2 separate regions of the Homo sapiens genome follow, and region 2 is linked to region 1. Evidence: promoter capture Hi-C in 16 types of primary human blood cells and fetal thymus (Javierre and others, 2016). All regions are on one chromosome and are shown on one strand. Each heading gives the region's core, a stretch centred on a gene start or on the middle of the fragment in contact. The rest is flanking DNA. Distances are from core to core; before and after follow the strand shown.

What was found. Contacts are between HindIII fragments. The CHiCAGO score rates a contact against its expected background, and 5 or more counts as called.
Region 2: a contact is called between a fragment that was not itself captured here and the fragment with the promoter of DLC1 in region 1, in 6 of 17 cell types (megakaryocytes, endothelial precursors, M1 macrophages and 3 more). The highest score is 10.3, in megakaryocytes.

Annotation. Positions count from the first base shown.
Region 1 is chr8:13,512,707-13,517,975 of GRCh38, forward strand. It overlaps DLC1 (DLC1 Rho GTPase activating protein), which reads right to left and starts at 2,145. Exons shown (of 18, transcript NM_182643.3): 1 at 1,896-2,145. The HindIII fragment of the contact is 2,152 bases long and covers 1,370-3,521 here.
Region 2 is chr8:13,039,939-13,045,207 of GRCh38, forward strand. It overlaps the pseudogene RNU6-842P. Among named protein-coding and RNA genes, the nearest start is that of TRMT9B, 97 kb to the left of the region's middle. RefSeq lists a silencer at 1,271-1,479. The HindIII fragment of the contact is 1,607 bases long and covers 1,873-3,479 here.

The DNA.
Region 1 (5,269 bases), core at 895-3,394:
AGTTTCATTATGATCATTTGAGTACAAGGATATAAATTAGAAAAGCTGTTTTCTAGCCCTATTTTTAAAGAAACATCAGATTAAAATTAATATAATTATTAGCATATGGATTGATTTTCTTGACATAAACATCAAATATAATAAAATAGTCATAAAGCAAGTTACTACTGTAAAGTGTTTATTGAAGGCATACTGATTTGATTTTTTTTTAAAGTTAGGATTTTTTTCCCCACATAATTAACATTGGTGACAGTTTTACCTTTTTTTTTTTTTTTTTTTAAATTAGAGGAACTGCAAATTTCTGTCTGCAAAGCACCCTTCTACTGGACATGTTCATACTTCATTATGCATAATTATTATGGGAGGGCAGGATGATGGGATAAAAAGGTATCTGAATTATGAATCAGGGCACTGTGGTTCTGCTGTCCTCTCTTCTATTAGCTAGAGGTGTGACCTTGGACAGGTCACTTTTAAATCCCATTTCTCAGCTTCTTGTAGACAACCTCAAGCCATTGTTAGAGGAGACCATCTCTTATGTTCTTTCCTTCTCTGAAATTCCATTTGGAGATTTTAATTAAATCATAATTTAGATAAGTCAGTATTTTATCTTCCACATATATAAAAAGTAGATTCTTTTTCTCATATTTAAGAAGTTTTAACACAAATTGTCAGTGAATAGTTAAAATTTATCAATATAAGTTATTCTAGCATAAAATTTGAGAATAGCTAATATAGCAGATGGTCACCTTGTACTATATAAAAACTTATAATGAAAACAGTTACTTCATTTCTTATGATCCAACTGTCAAAATAGCTCTCCATCTTTCACTTAGTATATTTTGTATTCATCTAATAGATTTGAAAATGTACATGAATATTTCTTCCCTTTATGTACCATTTTATTTCTATAAAATGATGAATTTTATTATAAATATTCAGAAATATAACAGTATCTTATGCATTATAAGTCCACACTTTTTCGGTCATTACTAAACTTCTTTTCTAATATATTGTACATTTAAACATTTAAGATTACCTTGAAGAGACTACAGTCAGGTGGAAATGTAATTTTACGATTACATAAGTAAGGACACAAACAGTTTCCATATGACTGGAGTGATTTCTGGCTGCCTTAAAAGAGTTATAATGAGTGTCAGTGTCATTGAGATTGACTTCAGTTATTCAAAATATTACACAAAATGTGACCGGAGCAAGCAGTGAATCCAGGAAAATTAATATAAACTAAATTCGATTCCGACATTTAAATTTCCAAAACTCAGATTAAATACTATTTAGGACAGAAATAATTCCTGAAATTTCACGTGTTTACTTTTTTTTTTTAAATGAACCTTTTAAGCTGTACAGGAGAAGCTTGACATATGATTGAAACTGGCTTGGGTAAAATAATAAGAAATTCAATCTTCGTAGTTTTAAATGAGACACAAAATACTCTTTGGAGACTGATTATTAAGCACAAGTCACTCGGGTGCTTTCTACTCTCCCTGTTGGCAAAGGAAGGTAGGGGAGGAATTCATTTACACCTCACACTGATGTGTGAGAAAATGTATTTGTTTCACGTTATGCCAAGAAATAGGAAAACTGATCCGACAGCTCAATTAATAAATAAGTTAAACGTAAAAAGGGATAAAAATAAAATCTTACTTTATGGAGGAAAAGAGTTAAATCTATATGGAGCCTGTTTTAGAACTGACAGTTTGCTAAAACGAATTGACTCAGAATTTTCTACTTATCAAACATTTTCCACTTCTGATTTTATGGCTTTGCTCTAAAACCTAGGAAGTCACCAACTCCGTGCAAGATGCTAACATTTATCTCAATCTTTCTGCCTCTTCAAAGACCGCCTCAAAGCATAAAGATAGTCCATAGCGTCTTACCTAGACAACGAGGAGCTGAAACGCCAAGGCATGACACTGCTCAACACTCAGGCTAGGAAAGAAGTCCGTCCCCGTTAGTTTCTCCAAAATCTAAGTTCCCATTTCGTGGTTGAGATCATGGCTCTATTCTGAGCAGTTTCACGCAGTGTGTGAGTCTAACAAAAACACCCTCTGCAGCTGGAGGGAGCCTTAGCTAAGGCAGGATCCTGTCAAGGCATTCCTAGTGACTTCTGTCTACTAAATTCAGACTGAGGTTTTGCAAAAGGGGCCTCCACAACCAGGCCCAGATTGCCTGGAAAGTATTTCCTGCCTCTGAGGAGTGTGCATGCTAGAAAGGCTGTACGAAGAGAGGGGAGGAGGGGAGAGCCCAGCCGCCTGGGCGTTTTAGGAGTTCTGATTTTACACAGAACTCAAGTGAGTTTTGTCAAAGCTCTTGAGGTGATTAGCTGTAGAGTCATAAAGTCCTAGAGCTTTTTCTATCCCACACTGCTTATGAAAAAAGAAAGAAAGAAAGAAAGAAAACGTAGTTTTCTCTCTATCCACAACCTTTCCACTATATTAAATGTATATGCACAGCTTAATCAAAATGCCTGTGCTTGCTCTCATTTCAAAAGATCTTTTAAGAGAGCAAGATGAATTTAGCCTTAATACCATAATTCTTCTAAATGGCAAAACCTTTTTTGAACATGACTTAAAATTGGAAATGCTGCAGCTTTTCATTCTGTCCCTGAGACCATCTGTAAGTAAAATCCCAAGCATCCAGTTAATAGAACGATTTCTTCCAGATCTCTCTGATCACAAGAATCCTTCACAGAATTAAAATAGTTCGTGTTATGGCAAATGCAGCAGCGCATTACCTCTAGTCAGAATCCTCCAGTTACAAAAATCCAGTGCTGGAGCAGAAGACAGGCTCCATCTTGATCGTATTAGAGTCTTGCTGACATTAAACACTTACAACTGCTTCCATCTAGCATGGCAGCGTTCCTGAATCACATCTCTAAAGCCGCTCATGGTATCTGCATCCTTCGTCCGTCACAAATTTTGTGAACTATCATCTGTTTATCTTTTCTGCTTTCTTGTGCCTCCCTTGAATGACTTCCTCCTAGCTGCTCCAGGTTGGGAATTTGGACTACCATTTGGTTTTGATTAAAACCAGACAGGCAACTCTGGAGAATTTAGGGAATAAGCTAATGGAAACTGCAAGTATGGCTTTAATTAGTGCATCAATTAATAATAGATGTTAGCTCGTCTTATAATAAGATATCACAAATACAAACACAGAGGAAGCTGAAGTCGTTTCAGGAAAAAAGTTACACCAATTTTCCTTCCTTTATGACCCAGAATCCTCTTTAGAGAATGTGGAAGGAAAGAAGAGGGAGGTGGTTTTGGGACATCCAGGCTGTGGAGAGGCCAGTAGAGCAGCTTCATTGTTTATACCAGGGAAGCAGGAAACAGCATCTCTGACTTTAATTATCTTGCTTGGTGGAAATGGCTCAGTCATGTCTCCCTTCTACTTTATTTACAATCAATGGATTTCGCTGCTATTTATGACTCAAGCATTTTTTTGGGGGGGGACTGATGATCAGATTAATTATTAGGTCTATCTGCTTCTTGCAAATTTCTAGAAGCTTTCAATAATAGGAAGTGCAAGAATAATTCCAGTTGGATGTGATAAAATGAGTAACATATAAAGAGGTAAAAGACATCTTAAACTTGTTGGCCCTAAGATCTATCCTGTTCTTCTCTGAAATTGTAAGTAGTTTTCATTGTTCACTGTTATTCTCCATCCCTGTATATCACAAGGGCTATCTTGTAGTACTTTTTGATAATATTGGGTAGGTGATAACTCAAAGATGCACAAGGTTCTAACTACTATTTTTTTCCTTATTAGGTAGCTAAAATCTCTCAAAGTTAATGCAAATCATGAACCATATTAGACCCATGTTAGATGGCAAGAATGACTTATACTGTGCATGAGTTTGAAGATGAGAAGTAGTCAAATAAAAACGTTTGGTCAGAAGCAGCTTTAAAAGTTTAGATCAAAGTCTTATTGACTAAAAACATGAGCATTTAGGTTTCTTTAATTTAATCTTCAACCATAGGCCAAGAAAGAAGTCTGTTCTTCCATAAATTCTTTAAAAAGTATTTATATTTATATTCAAAGTGTTTCTACTGACAGTATGCCTATTTAATCTTTCCAACAATTTTGCGTGTATTCATATGTTTTATTTTACAAATAAAGTATTGAGAAGCAATTTTCTCACAGTCAAATGATACAAAGTGCCCAGGTCCACACTGGAACTCAGATATTCTAGCTCCAAGCTTTGTGCTTTAATTTTTTCTCCATAAACTGCCTTCCTTGACTTCCACTTAATTTCTTTATTAAATTGGGAAGACTTCTTAAACTCTAATAGTTTCTCTTTAAAAATAGAGACAATTTCACATAACTTATAGATTGGAAAGCAGGATGAAATTTATATGCAGAAATATTTGTGTATTTATGTTTATTTCCCTAAGAAAAACACTGGAGAAGAAAGGAATGAGAACTGATATTATGTCTTTCCTAATATAACTTGATATCTCTATCTCTGTCACTGCCTTTAGTACTGATATACAGTGGTTACTCAATATTATATCAGCATCATGCTAATTCTTAGCTACATTTTATTCATGAATACTGTACCCCGCGCCATATACTTTAGTTTTGTTTCTATTTCTATTGGCTTGGGAAAACAAGAAAACTCTGTTCACAAATGCCTTTTAGATATCTAGAAACTCTTGTTAGTAAGTTTCTCATAAACATACCCTTTTCTACACAAAAAATACATTATGTTTTCTTCTATTAATAGGATTACTTCCCAAATCTTTAATTACTTATATTTATTTTTCATTGTTGAGTTGCTTGATTCCAAACAAATCTCAGATCTTATAGTCTTATAAAGGCTTTACCAAATATGAGTGTAAAGATAAATAGTGAGAAAACTTCCTAAGTACTTAGTATTGTGTCAGGAACACTGAAGGAGTTCAAAATATTTGTCCCCTTCTTTCTACTTGCAAATCTAAATACCAACTTCCTTAAATGTTTGACTGTTACTCTGTACTGGATCAGCTAATCAAATAAGGGGACAGGGACAGTTAAGAACTTGAAAACAAAGTATCAGGATAGGAGTCTGCTCCAAAACTAACAGCTTTTGTGACCTGTGTGAGTTACCTAACCGGGGTGAGGATGTCTTAGCTTCCATAACTAAGAATTGTCACAATGCAAAAAGCTAGTCCATATAAAGCCATTAGCTAGAATTATTTTTACCACTTAAATTATTGCCTTTTTTAATGTTTACATCTCTCTTTCAGGTATTTTTAGAATCTTTCTCTCT
Region 2 (5,269 bases), core at 1,426-3,925, 470 kb before region 1:
CGGGTGGATCACGAGGTCAGGAGTTCAAGATAAGCCTGGCTAAGATGGTGACACCCCATCTCTACTAAAAAGACAAAATTAGCCAGGCGTGGTGGCGGGCGCTACTCGGGAGGCTGGGGCAGGAGGGTTGTGTGAGCCCGGGAGGCAGAGGTTGCGGTGAGCTGAGATAATGCCACTGCACTCCAGCCTGGGCAACAGAGTGAGACTCTGTCTCAAAAAACAAAAAACAAAACCAAAAAATGGTAAGATGCAATGCATCCGGGTCTAGGATTTTCTCAAGCGTTTAGCAGCCTAGGAATTCTCAGTAGACTTCTGAAACATATAATTTATGCCCTAAAATTTTGATGACTAATATCTATGATATAGTAAAGCCTGTCTGGATATCAAGTCAGTGTGGGTTTGATCATTTATTTCAACCATTGGAAACAAACCCCAATGCCTCCAGAAGCCAGGTGGGTGACCTAAGGGTGGGATGGCAGGAGGGGTGTACCACCTAGAGAGCACAAGCCCTCCTCAAAAGAGAATCTGTTACTGACTTCGTTATTGCCCTATGTAAGTGTGGACCAGGCTTGCTGTTTGACATCTACAGTGCATTATTTCAACATTCATCAGGTTTAATGCACTATGCCACATAAGCGAGGTGATGCTACTAGGATATTTTTTGGAAATTTACACACACACAAGTCTGCTAAAATAGTTAGGTCTAAGGATTCCTAGCTCTGGGAGAAGGGTTACATTTTCTGCCTTATCTCCAGCTATTGGGGTTATTTGAATTATTTAACCTTGACCTGTTGTATTAGTCCATTCCCACACTACTAATAAAGACATACCTGAGACTGGGTAATTTATAAAGGAAAAAGGTTTAATTGACTCACAGTTCTGCATGGCTGGGGAGGCCTCAGGAAACTTACAATTATGATGGAAGGGGAAGCAAACACATCCTTCTTCACGTGGCAGCAGCAAGGAGAAGAATGAAAGCTGAGAGAACAGGAAAGCCCCTTATAAAACCACCAGATCTCATGAGAACTCACTATCATGAGAATAGCATGGGGTTAACCACCCCCATGGTTCAACTACTTCCCACCGGGTCCCTCCCGATTCACATGGGGATTATGAGAACTACAATTTAAGATGAAATTTAGGTGGGGACACAGCCAAACCATATCACCTGTATTTAATTTATATAATAAAATACATTTAATCTATAAATTATGTTAAAAGTACACATTGAAACCTGAAAGGTTTCAAGAAGTCCTATACTAGAGCAAAGAAACCCATTTAACAGTAATCAGCCCCTTGTTTCTCATAATATTTCACTCAAAATCTTTATTTTCCATATAAAATGTATGAACACCTTACGGAGCACTCTTTGGGAAAGGATGCCCAACTTTTAAAAGGAAGACCCAAACAAACCGGTCAACAGAAACAGAGTGCTGCTGTGGTGCCATGCCCGAGACACCTGCCAATAGTCCTCTGCCACTCGCCATCCTTGCATCAGCATCTGGGACATGGTAATTACACTCGACGGCCTGTCACTCCACCTCTCCTCATTCCTCAGCTCACAGAAAAGAGATCTGTGAAACACCAGCTCTGGTCTCGGCAAATATTTGTTTCCCCCTGGCTCCCTGGAAAATGCATTTTTAAAACTGTTCCTACAATTGCAGTATGGCAGCTGCTTTATCAGTGTGTGAAGACAGAACAATGATGTGGCTTAGATACTTGACATTTTGTATTGTTGGAAAGTGGCAAATTGCACTGAGCTGTAAATGCACTGTAAGTGGTGTTGTGTTGAATTATAAAGACAATTAGCACATTTCTTCCTTGTTTCTCGTTTATCTTTTCGTTTGTAAACATGGAAAGCAGAGTGCGATAAGCTTTACACCCCTTATCTGTAAAATGAGCTCAGTGATACTTATCTTGCAGAGTTTTGTAAACCAGAATTTTAAAAATGTTAAACTACCTAAGAGAATACAAAACACATAGCAGCATCCAATAAATGACAATTTTTACTATTTCTTCCACACCTCCTGTTAACATTAAACTCTTGGAGGGTGGAAGAAAGCATGGACATAAAGCACATACAGTCACTAGAGGAAATCAGAATACTGCAATGTTTGAGGTTCTTTGAAAGTTTTTAAAGCGTTTTAAGGGTCCTTAGACATGATCTTTTACAGATGAGAACAAGATGAAGTGAGATTGATAAAAATTAATCAATTTGCCCATGTTTTGCACAGGAGCATAAATTACCAGCAGACAACATCTGGATTCCATACTAAGAACACAAACATCTCACTACAGAGTTACAAACTGAACATGCCTCATGCCTAAAGTGCACACACCTATCAATCTTAGCTTTGCATGGTCCCAAAGACTCTGTAACTTTCACAGATTTGCATGTTTAATAACAAATTTGAATTTTGGGACTACTAAGTCATCTGCTGCAAATGTCACCAGTCCGTTGTTTAAGTTTCTGCGTGTATTTCACTCAACAGGTTTTCTTCATTAAGCACGGTGTTGTCTGTCCATCAGGCAGCAAAGCATCAGCGCATCCTACCACCAGATGGCACTAGACCCACTTGTGGAGGCTCTGGGGGCGCCATCAGCGTGGGACTAGAAGCTGATGAAAAACGAGAAGTTTCATTTCCCGGTTCCATTTAAACGTTCATACTGGGCCATAAAAGCAGATGAATTAGATATGCCATTATCCTGCATATATACATTTATATTTTATTGTATATATATATAAATATATATATATATATATATATAGAGAGAGAGAGAGAGAGAGAGAGAGAGAGAGAGACGGAGTCTCACTCCGTCACCCAGGCTGGAGTGCACTGGCAGGATCTCAACTCACTGCAACCTCTGCCTCCAGGTTCAATCGATTCTCCTGCCTCAGCCTCCTGAGTGGCTGGGATTACAGGAGCGTGCCACCACACGCGGCTAAATTTTGTATTTTTAGTAGAGACGGGGTTTTACTTTGGTCAGGCTAGTCTCGAACTCCTGACCTTGTGATCCGCCCGCCTTGGCCTCCCAAAGTGCTGGGATTGCATGCGTGAGCCACCGCGCGTAGCCTATCCTGCATATTTAAAGTTAATTGTGTTTAATAAAAATAGAGCAGAGATAGAGAAGTGATTGCCAGCCCAGCAGCTCTGAGCTATCTCATATAAGGCTTAGTAGGGAATCCTGACCCACACTCCAATCTCCAAGCTCTAGACATCTCACCAACAAAACAGGAAGCCAACACATTCTGGATCTTCTTTCCAAGATAAAGTCGACCATTCGTAATATTTTTTTCAGAGACAACGGAAGCTGAAAAATAAGAGCTGAGAAAGGAAGAACTTTTCTATAAGAACTTAAATCCAAAAGGCTATGGGATAGTAATGGAAAGTGGAGGAGAACAAAAAAGGCCTGGAAAGTAAAACCAGGAGGAAAAACAAACGTTTTAGAACAGCCAAGTGTGGGGAGTTGGAAAGTGAAGCTTTGAGTAGAAACCAGAGTTACAAAATTTCAGAGCTGAAAGCGGCCTTATAAGGAAGCAGAATTGGGCCCAAGGCCTAAATATTTGCCAAAAACCACGCAGGCAATTAGTGGCAGACAAGAGAGGACCTTCATTTTTGCTAAACAGGGCTCTTTCCACTGAAACATGTGGCCCTCTCAATATCTAACTAAAAACCTTTCACAAAATCCAAGTAAACACAGAGAAACATCCTCTCTTCTGTCTCCACTGCTTTCTCTGTCCACACGTGCACATGTACACACACAGCCACCATTATAACAATACAGGAAATTGAAGGAAACCATCTGAAACTTCAACGTCGGGCACAGCCGCCACAGATAACATATCAAATGCAAGGCTGGAAATCAGCACTGTTCACATTCACACAGGAAGCCCGACTCAAGCTGTTTGACCGTATTTAGTAATCAGTTCCATACTCACAAAAGAATGCCAGAACAAAAACAGACGGAAAAGAAAAAAAAAATAAATCCAACCATCCTTTTCCTTTGGAGGAGGACTTATACCACGAAGTTTAAAGAGAGGCCCAGCTGGTTTATAGAATTCTGCAGGAAATTTGGGGACCTCTGTAATGCCATTGTCTTCACTGGCCCAGGCAAGTAGCCGTACCAAGGCAGTTATGGGGATATTCAAACAAATCAAAGCCATATTTTACCTCAATTGTGCTTATACTTTAGGTGAAAGTATTCTGGACCTAATTATTTCTAATAATCATCAGATGCATCCTGATCTCATGGGAAGTGCTGAGAAAACCTATGGGGCTATTATCCACTTACTAGCTCTGTAAACTTGGGCAACTTAACTGTTCTGAGCCTCTTCCTTCTTCTATAAAAATGAGATTGATTACTATTGCCTTCCAGAATAGTTCTGAGGTGAAAATGAGAGTCAAGTTCTGTGCTCGCTTCAGCAGCACATACACTAAAATTGGAACGATACAGAGAAGATCAGCATGGCCCCTGTGCAAGAATGACATGCAAATTCATGAAGCGTTCCATATTTTTTTCTTAATAAAGCCTCTTTTCTACATATGAAAAAAAAAAGAGAGTCAATGTTCTATGGCACGAAGACACACCAGTAAATATCAGCCATTTCTTTCAGATATAGATAGATAGATAGATAGATAGATAGATAGATAGATAGATAGATAGATTTTTTTTTCCTGAGACAGGGTCTCCTTCTGTCACCCTGGCTGGAATGCAGTGGCAGAATCATGGCTCACAGGAGCCTCAGTCTCCCTGGGCTCAGGTGGTCCTCCCACCTCAGCCTCCCAAGTAGCTGGGACTACAGGCACGCCACCACACATGGCTAATTTTTGTATTTTTTGTAGAGATGAGGTTTCACCATGTTGCCCAGGCTGATCTTGAACCCCTGGAGTCGAACAATCCATCTGTCTCGGTCTCCCAAAGTGTTGGGATTACAGGCATGAGCCGCCGCGCCCGGCCCCATTTAATTGTTCTATTTTGTTTAATTTGGGCGGACTTGGGCCTCAAAGAGAAAAGTGAGAAGAAAATGCCTCATTTACAGTGGAGCCACTGGTGAGTTCTCTTAGACCTAATCTACATCTGAGGTTCTCAAATATTTTGGTCTCAGAACCCACCTACTTTCTTAAAAATTGAGGATTCCAAATGGCTTTTTAAGTCTGGGTTATTGATATTTACTATATTCACAAATAATACTCAGGGTTGGGCGTGGTAGCTCACGCCTGTAACCCCAGCACTATGGGAAGCCGAGGTGGGCAGATCACTTGAGGTC